Linked DNA regions of Homo sapiens: regions 1, 2, 3 and 4 are each linked to region 5. The links are contacts of gene promoters, found by promoter capture Hi-C in human tissues and cell types (Jung and others, 2019). All regions are on one chromosome and are shown on one strand. The core of a region is centred on a gene start or on the middle of the fragment in contact, and the rest is flanking DNA. Distances in the headings are between cores, read along the strand shown.

Evidence for each region. Contacts are between HindIII fragments. The study calls those that stand out against the background at their distance.
Region 1: a fragment that was not itself captured here is called in contact with the fragment with the promoter of EHD4 in region 5 in 1 of the 25 tissues and cell types used here (spleen).
Region 2: a contact is called between the fragment with the promoter of STARD9 here and the fragment with the promoter of EHD4 in region 5, in 1 of the 25 tissues and cell types used here (neural progenitor cells).
Region 3: a contact is called between a fragment that was not itself captured here and the fragment with the promoter of EHD4 in region 5, in 1 of the 25 tissues and cell types used here (hippocampus).
Region 4: a contact is called between a fragment that was not itself captured here and the fragment with the promoter of EHD4 in region 5, in 1 of the 25 tissues and cell types used here (dorsolateral prefrontal cortex).

What each region holds. Positions count from the first base shown.
Region 1 is chr15:41,340,163-41,342,862 of GRCh38, reverse strand. It overlaps NUSAP1 (nucleolar and spindle associated protein 1), which reads right to left. Exons shown (of 11, transcript NM_016359.5): 2 at 409-477. Among named protein-coding and RNA genes, the nearest start is that of NUSAP1, 8.6 kb to the right of the region's middle. The HindIII fragment of the contact is 4,302 bases long and covers 1-2,700 here.
Region 2 is chr15:42,574,259-42,576,958 of GRCh38, reverse strand. STARD9 (StAR related lipid transfer domain containing 9) reads right to left here and starts at 1,353. Exons shown (of 33, transcript NM_020759.3): 1 at 1,197-1,353. The coding sequence starts at 1,243. RefSeq lists a silencer at 1,216-1,845. The HindIII fragment of the contact is 9,099 bases long and covers 1-2,700 here.
Region 3 is chr15:42,914,839-42,917,538 of GRCh38, reverse strand. All of the region lies in intron 1 of TTBK2 (tau tubulin kinase 2), which reads left to right. Among named protein-coding and RNA genes, the nearest start is that of TTBK2, 4.6 kb to the left of the region's middle. The HindIII fragment of the contact is 6,776 bases long and covers 1-2,700 here.
Region 4 is chr15:42,652,557-42,655,256 of GRCh38, reverse strand. It overlaps STARD9 (StAR related lipid transfer domain containing 9), which reads right to left. Exons shown (of 33, transcript NM_020759.3): 9 at 2,665-2,700. Among named protein-coding and RNA genes, the nearest start is that of STARD9, 78 kb to the right of the region's middle. The HindIII fragment of the contact is 8,421 bases long and covers 1-2,700 here.
Region 5 is chr15:41,971,199-41,973,898 of GRCh38, reverse strand. It overlaps EHD4 (EH domain containing 4), which reads left to right and starts at 1,342. Exons shown (of 6, transcript NM_139265.4): 1 at 1,342-1,640. The coding sequence starts at 1,405. PLA2G4E-AS1 (PLA2G4E antisense RNA 1) reads right to left here and starts at 1,136. Exons shown (of 4, transcript NR_120334.1): 1 at 901-1,136; 2 at 1-95. RefSeq lists silencers at 1,291-1,420, 1,461-1,530, 1,631-1,900. The HindIII fragment of the contact is 6,706 bases long and covers 1-2,700 here.

The DNA.
Region 1 (2,700 bases), core at 193-2,692, 630 kb after region 5:
CAGCATATCTTTTTTTTTGTTTTTTGAACGGAGTCTTGCTCTGTCACCCAGGCTGGAGTACAGTGGCGCGATCCTGGCTCACTGCAACCTCCACCTCCCGGGTTCAAGCAATTCTCCCTGTCTCAGCCTCCTGAGTAGCTGGGATTACAGGCTCCCGCCACCACATCTGGCTAATTTTTGTATTTTTAGTAGAGACGGGGTTTCACCATGTTGGCCAGGCTGGTCTCGAACTCCTGGACTCAAGTGATCCGCCTGCCACTGCCTACCAAAGTGCTAGGAGTATAGGCGTGAGCCACAACACCTGGCCAACAGCATGTCTTAAATCATCACTAGTTGTGTGTTAATTGCCCATTAACCAAATATGATTATTTTGCTAGCTAACAGGTAAACATGAAAAACATTACTCACCTGATTCTCATTTCCTTTTCTTGCCTCATGTTTAATGTAGCCTTTCAAGGCTTTTAACAACTTGGTTGCCTGCAAGAGAGACCTTATTATTAGAGCCAAAAGTCAAATAAACAAGGAAGATACGTTGAATATTTTTTGCTGTTCTTGTATTCATTAAATGTACTCTGGTCAGACCATAGGACTAGAACCATTACTTAGAAAGAATGGGTCTCTGCTCTAAGGAATTTCACATCTGAGTGGGAAAGTTAGACAAGGAAAGAGGCAATTGCAATACAGTGGGGTAAATGCCCACGCTAGGAGGCTCAGGCTGTCATGAGAACATAGGTAGGCATGGCCATCAAAGTTGGGACTGCTAGGTTAGACTTCAGCAAGTATCTGCACAGGGCAGTTCTCAGATAAAGATGTGATGTCTCTAATTGCTGAGATCTGAAGGATGAAGAGAAGGTAGAGAAAGAGGTAGAGGAATGGCACAGCAAGGCAACAATGAGGGTGGAGTTTGAAGAACTTAAGTTCAGTGTGGCTGGAACATGGACCTGTTTGTAGGAGATAGTAAGAGACAATGTTGGGAAAGTGAGCAGGGCCGTGATGTTACCAGGCCTTGTAAGCCTTTAAAGAGTATGAACTTTACTCTCAGAGAAAAGGGCAGTCTCTGAAGAGTTTGCAGCAAGGCAGTGGGTGACCAATTTTGCATTACTCAGAATGAGTAGTCTACCTGCACAATGTGCAAGATGCATTTGATGGGGATGAGCCAGAAATGCTGTGGCCTGAACTGGAGCGGGGCTAAGGCAGTATGGATGAAGTCAAAACCTTCTTAGGAAGTGAAATCAGTGTGAACATGAGAGTTGAGGAAGAGGGAAACTTTGTTATGCCAACGTTTCTGGCTTGGACAGCTGGTGAAGTGTGGTACGGTCCCTAAGATGAGGAATGCAAAAGGTGACGGGGTCTTAGGGGGATGGTTGTAGGTCTCTGCCGGGGGAAGGGAACACTGAGCTTCTCTTCCCAGCCTAGGAAAACCTCCCTTCTTGTTCTTTCCTGAAAGAACAATGTTAATTTGATTGGTTACATTTTCCTGTGCTTTAAAAGTCAAGTTTGGTTGAGCGGGGTGGCTCATGCCTGTAATTCCAGCACTTTGGGAGGCCGAGGCAGGTGGATCACGAGGTCAGGGGTTTTAGACCAGCCTGGCCAACATGGTGAAACCCCGTCTCTAATAAAAAAACAAAAATTAGCCGGGCATGGTGGTGTGTGCCTGTAGTCCCAGCTACTTGGGAGGCTGAGGCAGAAGAATTGCTTGAACCCAGGAGGCGAAGGTTGCAGTGAGCCGAGGAGATGATGCCACTGCACTCTAGTCTGGGCGATAGAGCAAGACTCCGTTTAAAAAACAAAAGTCAAGTTTTTTGGTTGGGTTCTTTTTTTCTTCCTCTTCCACCCAGCCATGCAGTTGAGGGCCACAGCCATCCTTCTCAAGGTGGGCCCAGCCACCAGGCTTGGCTCTATTCTTCTCATGCCTTTTATCATGGGCCATGTGTCCAGTAGAGAATAGCAGAGATCCTGAAATTTGGTTTGTGCTCAAGCTTTTGCTTGTGGTGCAAGCCTAAGCCACAGTCTCCAATCCACTTTACCAGAATGCTCTGCATCAAGATATCAGGCACTATTTCAGCTAGTAATAAAGTGGTACCTTATTTTCTACTTGTTCCTTGAACCACCCTTGAGGTTTTCTCTGGGAAGGGGATGATTGGCAGGGCAGAATTCAGGCATTCTTGATTTTTCTAATACTCTCTTAATATACCTTCAAAATCTCACCAAACATACAAAAATGCATGAAGTGAGGCACCTGTGGCAGAACCCAGTGAGGAGGTTGAATGATATGAGGTGGTGTTCAAGAGTTGTGCTGAAGGTGCAGATGTTAGTTATCAGCATATATTCATGCATTCCTTCAACAAGCATTTATTGTGCTGGGCACTGTTCCAGACACTAGAGAGTGATTAATTAAACAGACAAGGTGATTGCCCTCCAGGATCTTCTAGCAGAGGTGAAACAGTTACCCAAGAAAGCTAGAAATGAATGATATGACGTCAGGTATTATGATGCAAAAATAAAACTGGGCAACTGGGGTGGGGTGGGGATGCTACCTGAATTAGGATGGCTGGGAAAGGCCTCCCGAGATGTGAATGAGGAAAGAGGCAGCAGGTGAAGAGCACTCCGAGCAGAGCGAGCGCCAAGAACAGGAGCCCTGAGGTGGACTCATGAGTTGAAAGACAGAAACTGCCCTTATGGTAGAAGTATGGTGAACAC
Region 2 (2,700 bases), core at 104-2,603, 600 kb before region 5:
GTCACAAGCCATTTACCAATCAAAACGCAGCAGGTCAGGCATCTGCTTTCCCTCTTTCTTCAGTGTACCTCTTTTGCCTTCTTCCTATTCTCTTTAACTTTTTGTTTCTTTCTATCTCATTGCTCTTCTCATTAGTCTGTCAATTACAAGACTTTTCAAAGCCAATCATTTCTATATGAGGACGAACATAATCCACACTAGTACCCAATTTTATTATGGGAGACGATACCTTTCTTGATCCTTCTGCCCAATTATCAAGCTATCTTATGTCCCAGAGATTTTTAAACTTGCCAAATAATTCCAACATGTGCCTCCTGGTCCCCAAAGCACCCTCTGCCAGATTTACCTTCCACCACTCACTTCCCTCCACACCAACCACCCTTTCCCCACCAAAACTTAACCTCTAGTTAGTCCCTTACAGTCTAAGTCCTTTGCTCTTGGCGGTCTTACTACATAGAAGGCTCTTTAAACTCTCTCCACCTGTCAACAAACTCTAATTGATCTTTAAAAAACACTTCATCTGGTGACAAAGAGAAAAAAGTTCGTGGCTGCACACTGGATGTCTCAAGGGCTGAGATGAGAGGTGCGGAATCAAAATAAGCCACGAGAAAACGGGCACTGAGGGCTCTGAGAGAAAGAAGGGGTTGGAACAACTTCCCCTACTTAACAGTTCCGTCCTGGATTAAATCAGCTGTCGAGCATAGAAAGAAACCGCGACCTGTGTCGGCCTCAATTTCCCCCTCACGCCCTCACCTTCTGCTTTCTCCACATCTTCGCAGAGAAGCCCACGCGCACCCAGAAACACACACCATTCAGCCTCAGTCCTCATGGGTACTCCCAAGCCCCCAGAAAGAGAGAGGAGAATGCTCATCCCTCTCCCAGCCTTTCTCAAAGGCCCAACCCGATGCAGCAAGCCTCGAGCCGCCGTCCCTCGAAACTCCTGCTGGCAGGACGCCAGCGACGCTCACCCAGGGCAGCCCTCCCGCGGCCGTCCGGGAACCGCTATCCCCAGGACACAACGCGAAAGCTCGACTGAGGTCCCGTCCCGCCAGGCCTCCGTGGATTCCGGACCCCGACCCCCCGGGTCACTTTGTCACCGATTTCTGCGCGCCAGAATCTCTGCAGGGGGAGACGCGGACCTCCCGCTCTTTTCAGCTCCTGTGAAGCCTCAGGCGCCCTCTCCCGCGGAGACTCACCTCTTGCTGAGCGGCCGGACCCGCACGGCGACCTGCACGTTCGCCATCCGTCTGCCACAACCCAAGTCCAGCGGGTCAGCTCAGCGGCAGCATCCCAGGCCCCCGCCCTAAGCCCAGACACAGCCCCAACCCAGCCCCGCCCGCCCCACGCGCCTCTGGGGACGCCGCCGCGCGGACGCGAGCTGCCGCCCGAGCGGGGCGGTGCCTGCCTAGCTTCGGCCAATCCTGAGCCCGGTGGGCGGGAGAACTCCCGGCCCCGCCTCCCCTCAATCCTCCTTAAAGCCTCCTGACTCGCCCCCGCCCAAACACGCGCCGCAGCCAGAGCAGGCGGGCCCGTGTGGACGTTCGGCCAGTCCTTAGCCTGGTGGGCGGGAGGATGCCAGGGCTCGCTCCGCCTCGTTCCATCCGAAGCCTCCCGGGTCGCCCCCGCCCAAACACGCGCTGCATCCCGAGCTGGGTGGTGCCCGCCGAGCCTTGGCTAGTCGGTGGGCGGGAGGACGCCCGGGCTCGCCCCGCCTCGCTCCGCCCTACAGCCTCTTGGGACGCCCCCACCCATGCGCGTGCCGCACCGGGCCCAGCAGTGCCGGCCCAGCTTCAGCCAATCCTGAGCCGAGTGGGCCGCGAGGACTCAGTGCTAAGTCTGTTGTTCCTGGCCCCGCTTACCCAGAAATAGTTTTTGTTCCTCGACTAGGTGTCCGTGCTATGTAAAGTCAAGTAAATCAACTTTTGGTCCGAAAGTTTGCAAAGTAATTTGCTAAATACTTTTATTCTCTGCGTTCGCTTGAACTGTCAATTCTGTGGTTAAATTTTCGAGGCAGGCCGGGTGCAGTGGCTCACGTCTGTAATCCCAGCACTTTGGGAGGCTGAAGCGAGATCACCTGAGGTCAGGGGTTCGAGTTCAGCCTGACCAACCTGGTGAAACCCCGTCTGTACTCAAAATACGAAAATTAGCCGGGCCTGTTGGCGTGCGCCTGTAATTCCAGCTACCCGGGAGGCTGAGGCAGGAGAATTACTTGAACCCTGGAGGCGGAGGCTGCAGTGAGCCTGGATCGCGCCACTGTACTTCAGCCTGGGCGACAGAGCAAAACCCTGTCTAAAAAAAATAAAATAAAAAAATAGAAGGCAGTCCCTTACTGGCAAGGTACTTCCTGACATCAGGGACAAAGCATAGATGGAACCAATTCAGATAAAGGGTTATTGTCCAGGTCTTCTTGTACAACCAAAAGACAGGTGGCTGGTGTTTATCTTTTCCCTTCAAGGCTTGAGGGTTAGCAGCCATATAGATAAGGGCAGTGCTGATCATAAACCCAACTGCATTTGCACAAAATATTAGCGTATCCCTTCCTGCCTTAAATCCTGGTGCTTGCTTCTCTTCCTTACTAATAAATGTCCTTTGTGGCATTTATTTTTCCAGAATAGGGAACTTGCATATGCACCGAAAAGCTGTTCAGGCAGATACCCTTTCTTCTCAATTATTTCCTTAATGGTGTCTAGGAACTCATTT
Region 3 (2,700 bases), core at 26-2,525, 940 kb before region 5:
AAAAATTCAGTTTTTTAGAACTAAATTTTGAGCATAAGGACAACACATATTACTACTCAAAACTGCCTCATTAAAGTCTGGTGATCCTTGATTATAGGTTTATAATACAGATTGAAATTATATTATAACATAATATGAATGTCAATTTTGCTAGATAGTTTCTTCTTTTCAGTTGGTTATTTTTAAATAGCCTTCTTAGTATATTTTCATTAATGTCATGTGACTTTATTCTTGATGCTTAAGTGAACATATAGTACTTACAAACTTTTGTGAACATTTTGGATTTTTTTTCCTGTGATTTTTTTTTTAACCTTTGTCTCTATAATCCTTGGTGTTTTGGAGTGTTTATAGCTGTTTTTTATTGTATATAGGAATTTGCTTTCACTTCAGTTAGGGTAAAGCTTCCCAATGTGAAAAACTTAAGTGTCCTTTGAAAAGAATCTGGGATGTAATAGTGCCTCCTAAAGAGTGGAAGTTACTAAGTAGCTTCTTAGCTTCCTTTGGTAAGCTATCGAGATTTAACCATGTTTTCAGAATCATTATTTTTTTAAACAGAGAATTAACATCTTTATTGAAAACAAGAATCAGCATTTTAAAATGTTTGAATTAGAAAACATATTTGCCATTATATATGTTTTTACCAAAATGGTTTTATAATTAATATTTTTATATTTGTCTTTTTCTTTCTGCAGTTTCAAAGTAGTTGCCTTTAAAAAAATGGAGTTGCAGTTTCCATCATCTTGTTCTAGCCATATGATCATTGAAAGACTATATTTTGTTCATATTTTTCCAACATTGAATTTTCCACGTTATATATTATAGATGAAGTTTGTAAAGTCTTTTTAAATTTCTTGATCCTCCAAGTGCTTCAGTTTCAAAAATATCTAAAAGTTTTATCACCATTTTTCAGCCGGGTGTGGTGGCTCACACGTGTAATCCTAGCACTTTGGGAGGCCAAGGTAGGTAATTGAATCACTTGAGGTCAGGAGTTGGAGACAAGTCTGGCCAACGTGGCGAAACCGCATCCCAACTAAAAATAGAAAAATTAGCAGGATGTGGTGGCATGCACCTGTAATCTCAGCTACTTGGGAGGCTGAGGCAGGAGAATTGCTTGAACCCGGAGGCGGTGGTTGCAGTGAGCTAAGATTGTGCCACTGCACTCCAGCCTGGGTGACAGAGTGAAACTCTGTATCAAAAACAAAAACAAAAAACATTTTTCAATGACCAATAAGGCGAAGATGAGGGGAGGAAAATAGGAAAAAATGAATAACCAAAGAAAAAAATGTGAGCCTTGCCTCTCATGGAAATTTGATTTAAGAAAAATCATCTGGAGGCTAAATTATATGGTAGATAATAAACTAGATTAGGACTTCATTTCTGCTGGACTTCCCTAGCACTTAAAAAATTCAACATATCCAAGATAATAGTCAGTTCTCTTTTTAACTTCCTTAATTCTATAAATAAAGGCATTATCATTTAGTCATACAGGATCAAAACACACATTCTCTCTCTCTCTTTTCTTTTTTCTTTTTTCTTTTTGCTCCCTATTTCTCCTGGATCTCACCCACACAAAACCTCTGCTTTCTTTCTTTTTTTGGAGACAGGGTCTTGCTCTGTTGCCCAGGCTGGAGTGCCATGATCGTAGCTCACTGCAGCCTTGACCTCCTGGGATCAGGCAGTCCTCCCCCCTTAGCCTCCTGGGTAGCTGGGACTACGGGCATGTGCCACCACACTTGGCTAATTTTACAATTTTTTGTATAGGTGGGGTCCCACTATGTTGCCCAGGCTGGTCTTGAACTCCTGAATTCAAGCAATCCTCCCACCTCAGCCTCCCAAAGTGCAGGAATTATAGGCATGAGGCACAATGCCTAGCCCTCTGCATTTTATTTCCATTGCTACCACCTTACTTTGGTCTCTGTGAAACTTTAAACTACTGTAGTCATCCCCATCTAAGGGGCATGCATTCCAAGACCCCCAGTGGATGCCTGAAACCTCAGATAGTACCTTACCCTATAGATAATTATGCTTTTCCTATACATACATGGCTGTGATAAAGTTTATAAATTAAGCATAGTAAGGGAATAATAACAATAGCTAATAAAATAGAACAGTTATCGTAATATGCCAGCATCACTACTCTTGTGTTTTAGGGCCATTATTAAGTAAAATAAGAGTTAGTTACTTGAACACAAGCACTGCTATACTGAGACAGTGATCTAACAACCAAGATGGCTACTAAGTGACAAACAGCACAGACGGTGCAGATACATGCTGGACAAAGGGATGGTTCACGTCCTAGGTGCAACAGAGCTGAACAGCTTGAGATTTCATCACCATACTCAAAACAATATACAATTTAAAACGTATGAATTGTTTATTTCTGGAATTCTCCATTTAATATTTTTGGACTGTGGTTGACCACGGGTAACTGAAACTGCAGAAAGTGAAACCATGGATAAGGGGGATTACTGTGTAACAGTAGCCTCATTCCTTGATTAAATACTTGCTAAGCATCTACCATGTTACTGTGCTAGGGGTTGGAGATTTAACAGCCAACAAGACAAATAATCTACTCACTTTTGGAGCTTACAAATAGTGGAAGCAGAGATTTGCAGGAGAAGGAATTACAAGTGTTCCAGGTATTATGAAGGGAAGATGCAGACATGAGCATTTAACAGACCTAACAGTCAAGAGGTGGGT
Region 4 (2,700 bases), core at 181-2,680, 680 kb before region 5:
AGGCTGGAGTGCAGCGGTGTGATCTCAGCTCACTGCAACCTCTGCCTCCCAGGTTCAAGCAATTCTCCTGCCTCAGCCTCCCGAATAGCTGGGATTACAGGTGCCTGCCATCACGCCCAGCTAATTTTTTCTATTTTTAGTAGAGAGGGGTTTCACCATGTTGGCCAGGCTGGTCTCAAACTCCTGACCTCAAGTGATCCGCCTGCCTCGGCCTCCCAAAGTGCTGGGATTACAGGCATGAGCCACTGCGCCTGGCCCAGATTTGTTCTTTTTGCTTAGTCTTGCTTTGGCTATGTGGGCTCTTTTTTGGTTCCATATGAATTTTAGGACTGTCTTTTCTAGTTCTGTGAAGAATGATGGTGGTATTTTGATGGGGATTGCATTGAATTTGTAGACTGCTTTAGGCAGTATGGCCATTTTCACAATACTGATTCTACCCATCCATGAGCATGAGATATGTTTCCATTTGTTTGTGTCATATATGATTTCTTTCAGCGGTGTTTTGTAGTTCTTCTTGTACAGGTCTTTCACCTCCTTGGTTAAGTGTATGCCTAAGTATTTTTTTTTTTCAGCTATTGTAAAAAATGTTGAGTTCTTGATTTGATTCTCAGCTTGTCTGCTGCTGGTGTATAGCACAGCTACTGATTCATGTACATTAATTTTGTATCTTGAAACTTCGCTGAATTCATTTACCAGTTCCAGGAGCTCTTTGGATAAGTCTTTAGGGTTTTCTAGGTATACAATCATGTTGTCAGCGAACAGCAACAGTTTGACTTCCTCTTTACTGATCTGGATGCCCTTTATTTCTTTCTCTTGTCTCATTACTCTAGCTAGGACTTATGGTTACTATTATTATGGTATATCTTTTTCCATCCTTTTACTTTCAACCTGTGTCTGTGATTCTAAGGTGTGTTTCTTATAGACAGCATGTAGTTGGGTCTTGCTTTTATGCAATCTGAAAATTTGTACCTTAGGCAATTCACACTTAATGTATTTAATAATTATTGATGTGCTCAGAACCATCCATGTCTGATTTTTCTTTTTTCTGTGTCTCATATCTCCTTTGTTCCTCTGTTCTTCCTCCACTGCCTTTAACTGTTAGGTATTTTTATTAATATGTACCATTTTAATTTCTGTTGTTTTTTCTGCCCAGAGGAGGCAGAAGAAATGTTGATTTTTAAAATTGTATTTTTGAGCTATTTTCTTAGTACTTGCTCTACAGATTACAATACATATCTTTATTTATGATCTACTTTAAAATAATACTAACTTAATTCCTGTAAAATATAGTAACTCTACTTAAATATATCTCCTTTCATTTCCCTTGTGCTGTTATTTTCATATATGACAATGTACAAAAATGCATTGTTACAATTGTGGTTTTATGTAATCTTATTCTTTTATTGACATTAGGAGAAGAAACGAGAAAGAATGTAGGTTTTTTTTATATTTACTCACACATTTATCATTCCCAGATATTTCACTGTCTCCTATAGATTTAAGATACTTTCTAATATCACTTTCTTTCAGCCTAGAAGATTTCATTTAGTTTTCTTGTCAGGTAAGTCTGCTGGCAATAAATTCTACTTTTTATTTTTCCAATCTGGGAATGTTCTTATTGCCAGTTTTTTATATTATCTCAGCCCCCTGACTTCTAAGGGTTCAATGCTTCTGATGAGAAGTCAGCCATTCATCACGTAATTGTTCTACTGTATAAGTCACTTTTCTCTAGCTGTTTTTAAGATTTTCTCTTTGTCTTTCAACAGTTTAACTATGATGTGTCTAGGTGTGGATCTCTTTGTGTTTATTTTACTTGGAGTCCTTTGAGCTTCTTAGATCTATAAATGATTTTCAACAAATTTAGGAAGTTTTTAGTCATCATTTTATTTTGGGTGTGGTACTTCTCACTTTGTTACATTCCTTTAATCTATTTTCAGACCACAGAAAGGATTTTGTCCAGCTTTATAGTTGCTTTTTGGGGATATGACTTGACCTCCTCAATCCATCACAATGGAAGTGAATCTTCTAATATTTCATTTTAATGCTTATTTTCTTTTCAACCTTTTGTTTTAAATGTCCATACTGATCACACCGATGTGAAAGCGTTTTAAAATGTTAAAAATAAATATAAGCAGAAGATATTTTGATTAGTCTTTATAAAATGCTTCTACCCATTCTAGGTGTATAGCTTAACGGATTGTGTGTAAATCCGGTTTACAATATTAGGTTCTATCAGAGGACCTATAAATATGAGAGTAGGAGGAAAGGAAAAGAAACAGGGCCGGGAACGATGGCTCCCATCTGTAATGCCAGCACTTAGGCAGGCCGAGCCAGGTGGATCATCTGAGGTCAGGAGTTTGAGACCAGTCTGGCCAACATGGTGAAACCCCGTCTTTACTAAAAATTAAAAAATAATTAGCCGGGCATGGTGGCGTCTCCTGTAATCCCAGCTATTTGGGAGGCTGAGGCAGGAGAATTGTTTGAGCCTGGGAGGCAGAGGTTCAGGTGAGCCGAGATCGCGCCACTGCACTCCAGTCTGGGCAACAGACTGAGACCCTGTCTCAAAAACCAACAAACAAAAAAAGAAATAGGAAGGAAGACAAGAAAGTGGTTTAAAGGTACAAGGAGAGGAAGAAATCTCACCAAACATAAGGAGTTACCAACCTGCGTGTAGTGGATCGTGAAAATGGCGTGGGATCT
Region 5 (2,700 bases), core at 93-2,592:
AGACTTAGGCCACATCAGAGTCACCTAGGGCATCTGTTGAGCTCCATCTCTCCTCAATATTTTAACTCAGTAGGTCTGGACTGAAGACCAGGAATCTGCATTTTAACAAGCATCCCAGCTCATAAATGCATATATGCAGGTGGCCCCATGGATCACACTTGAGAAATGCTCTAAAACAACTAAGAAATATTCCTAAGCTACAATCAAGGACACAAAAGGTGATTATTTCCCCCAATCTCAACTTAGATAAGTGAGTATCCTTTTAACCTAGAAAAGAAACAGGCCAGGGGCGGTGGCTCACGCCTATAATCCCAATACTTTGGGAGGCCAAGGCAGGCGGATCATCTGAGGTCAGGAGTTCAAGACCAGCCTTACCAATATGGTGAAACCCCATCTCTACTAAAAATACAAAAATTAGCTGGGCATGGTGGTGAGCGCCTGTAGTCCCAGCTACTCAGGAGGCTGAGACAGGAAAATTGCTTGAACCCGGGAAGCGGAGGTTGCAGTGAGCCGAGATCGTGCCACTGCACTCCAGCCTGGGCGACAGAGCGAGACTCCGTCTCAGAAAACAACAACAACAACAAAAAACAGCTAGGAGGTGACAATGACTCACATGTCAATATGTGGAAATAAAGTTGTAATAATGAGGATAATGTAATAATGAGAGTAATGACTAAATTTTCGGCTTTACAGAAAAACACATAAAGAAAACTAAGGGGAAAAAGCCTTTAGCTGATCCAGAATTTAGTGAGGGCAATGTGGAGAAGTAGGAGAAACGGCTACTCAAATAGATTCCAGTCCACTTCCCCTCAAGATTGTGTCAATTATGCCCGTGAGCCTGGGTCTCTTGGCCTGTAAAACGGAGTCATAACCACCCGCCCCCGGGAAGACAGAACCTGCCTGTCCACTTTCTGAACTTTTCATCCCCAGTATCGACGTCCAGAGGCCTGAATGAGTAAACGTTCCAGGAGATGGAGCAGCCTCCGGAGGCTCGCTTTGGGCAGCTCAGATTTACCCGGAAGCCGATGCCACCTGGCCAGAGGTGAGGCACCGGCAACCAGAAGGGGGCCCTGAGCATGACCGGTCAGTGCCACCCGGCCGGGAAGACACCATCTCCCCGCCCAGTCCTCTAGAATGACTCCGTCATCAATAATTCATTAAGAACCTCCTCTCAATTGGCTGACGCCTTCAGCCCTCTCTGGCAGAGATCCAATCAGGAAGGACCTGAGAGAGCTCGTCTGAATAGTGGGCGAGCGCGCGTGACGTAGCGGCCGAAGACTGGCTGTGGCAGCACAAGGCGGGGCCCTCCTCGGGCGGCGGCCAGCGCGGCCGGGGCGGCTCAGTGCGAGCCGGGGAGAGTCGAACCCGGAGCAGGGTCCCATCCGAGCGTGGACTGGCGGCAGGATGTTCAGCTGGATGGGGCGGCAGGCGGGCGGGCGCGAACGCGCTGGCGGCGCGGACGCGGTGCAGACGGTGACGGGCGGGCTGCGCTCGCTCTACCTGCGCAAGGTGCTGCCGCTGGAGGAGGCGTACCGCTTCCACGAGTTCCACTCGCCTGCGCTGGAGGACGCCGACTTCGAGAACAAGCCCATGATCCTGCTGGTGGGCCAGTACAGCACCGGCAAGACCACCTTCATCAGGTACCGTCACCGCCCCTCGCCCGGCTCCCGCCCCGCTCCGCCCTCCCCACGTGTGCGCCGCAGTCGGCCGCCTCCCGCCGCTGCCCCTCCCGGCCGGCGCGACCTCGGGGACCCCTCCCGGAGCTCGGCGCCCGGTGCCCTCGGCCCCGCCCCGGCTGGCCAGCCCCGCGCGCTGGAGGGTCCCGCGAACCCGCGCCCTGCGCACTCCGAGCCCTCCTTCCTTGCGGTTCGGAAGGCGTTGCTCCCGCTGGCCTCGTCCGGTCGCCCTGGCGGGAGGGTCCAAGGGAGAGAGGGGGCGCGAGCCATAATCAGCATATTCTTGACGAGGGAGTGATGCCTAGGGATGGAAATGGGGGGAGAGGCGTAGGGTATCCGAATGGGACAGAGTCCTAGTTGGAGAGTTTGTTTAACTATTCATTTGTTCAACTATTTCTTGAACAAATGAATGGCAGCAGGAGAGCGTATCGCCCAGGCCCCCTTCCCTTGAGGTCTTTACGTGCCACCCCACAGTGTTGTGGGGAGGGGATAAAGAGGCCGCCTACGTTCAGTTCATGCACCGCCTTTAGCCGCCCGTAGGAAGTGAGCTGCGTGTAGCAGCCGCACCAGCCTGTGGAACTAAGGGGGAGTGTCATATTACTATTTGTTAGTTTCCATTTCTTAGGTGGGTCATTCCCTCCTCGCTTACCCTTGACAACTGAAAATATTTGTCATGCTTACCGTGTTTCTGAAAGCACACAATCACTGTGCATACCCTGTGGTTCAAATCATATAGTTTCAAAAGAAGTGACTTTTGCTGGGAAATTATTTAGACAGAAACAGATTGCTTTGTTGATCACCTGTTTTATTTCTAAAGCAGCCAGCATATTTAGGCTCACTGTTTTTGGTAAGAAGAACTTATTTTTCTGACTTAAGCCGTGTATCAGTTGAAACAAAGTGCTGATCATTTAAGGTTTTGGTCCAGGGTTTTGGAAATTGTAACAATCTCTTCATCATTTGATGTGCAACAGGTGTTGAGAAAACTGCATCTATATTTGGATACATGCCATTTCTGTTAAGTAGC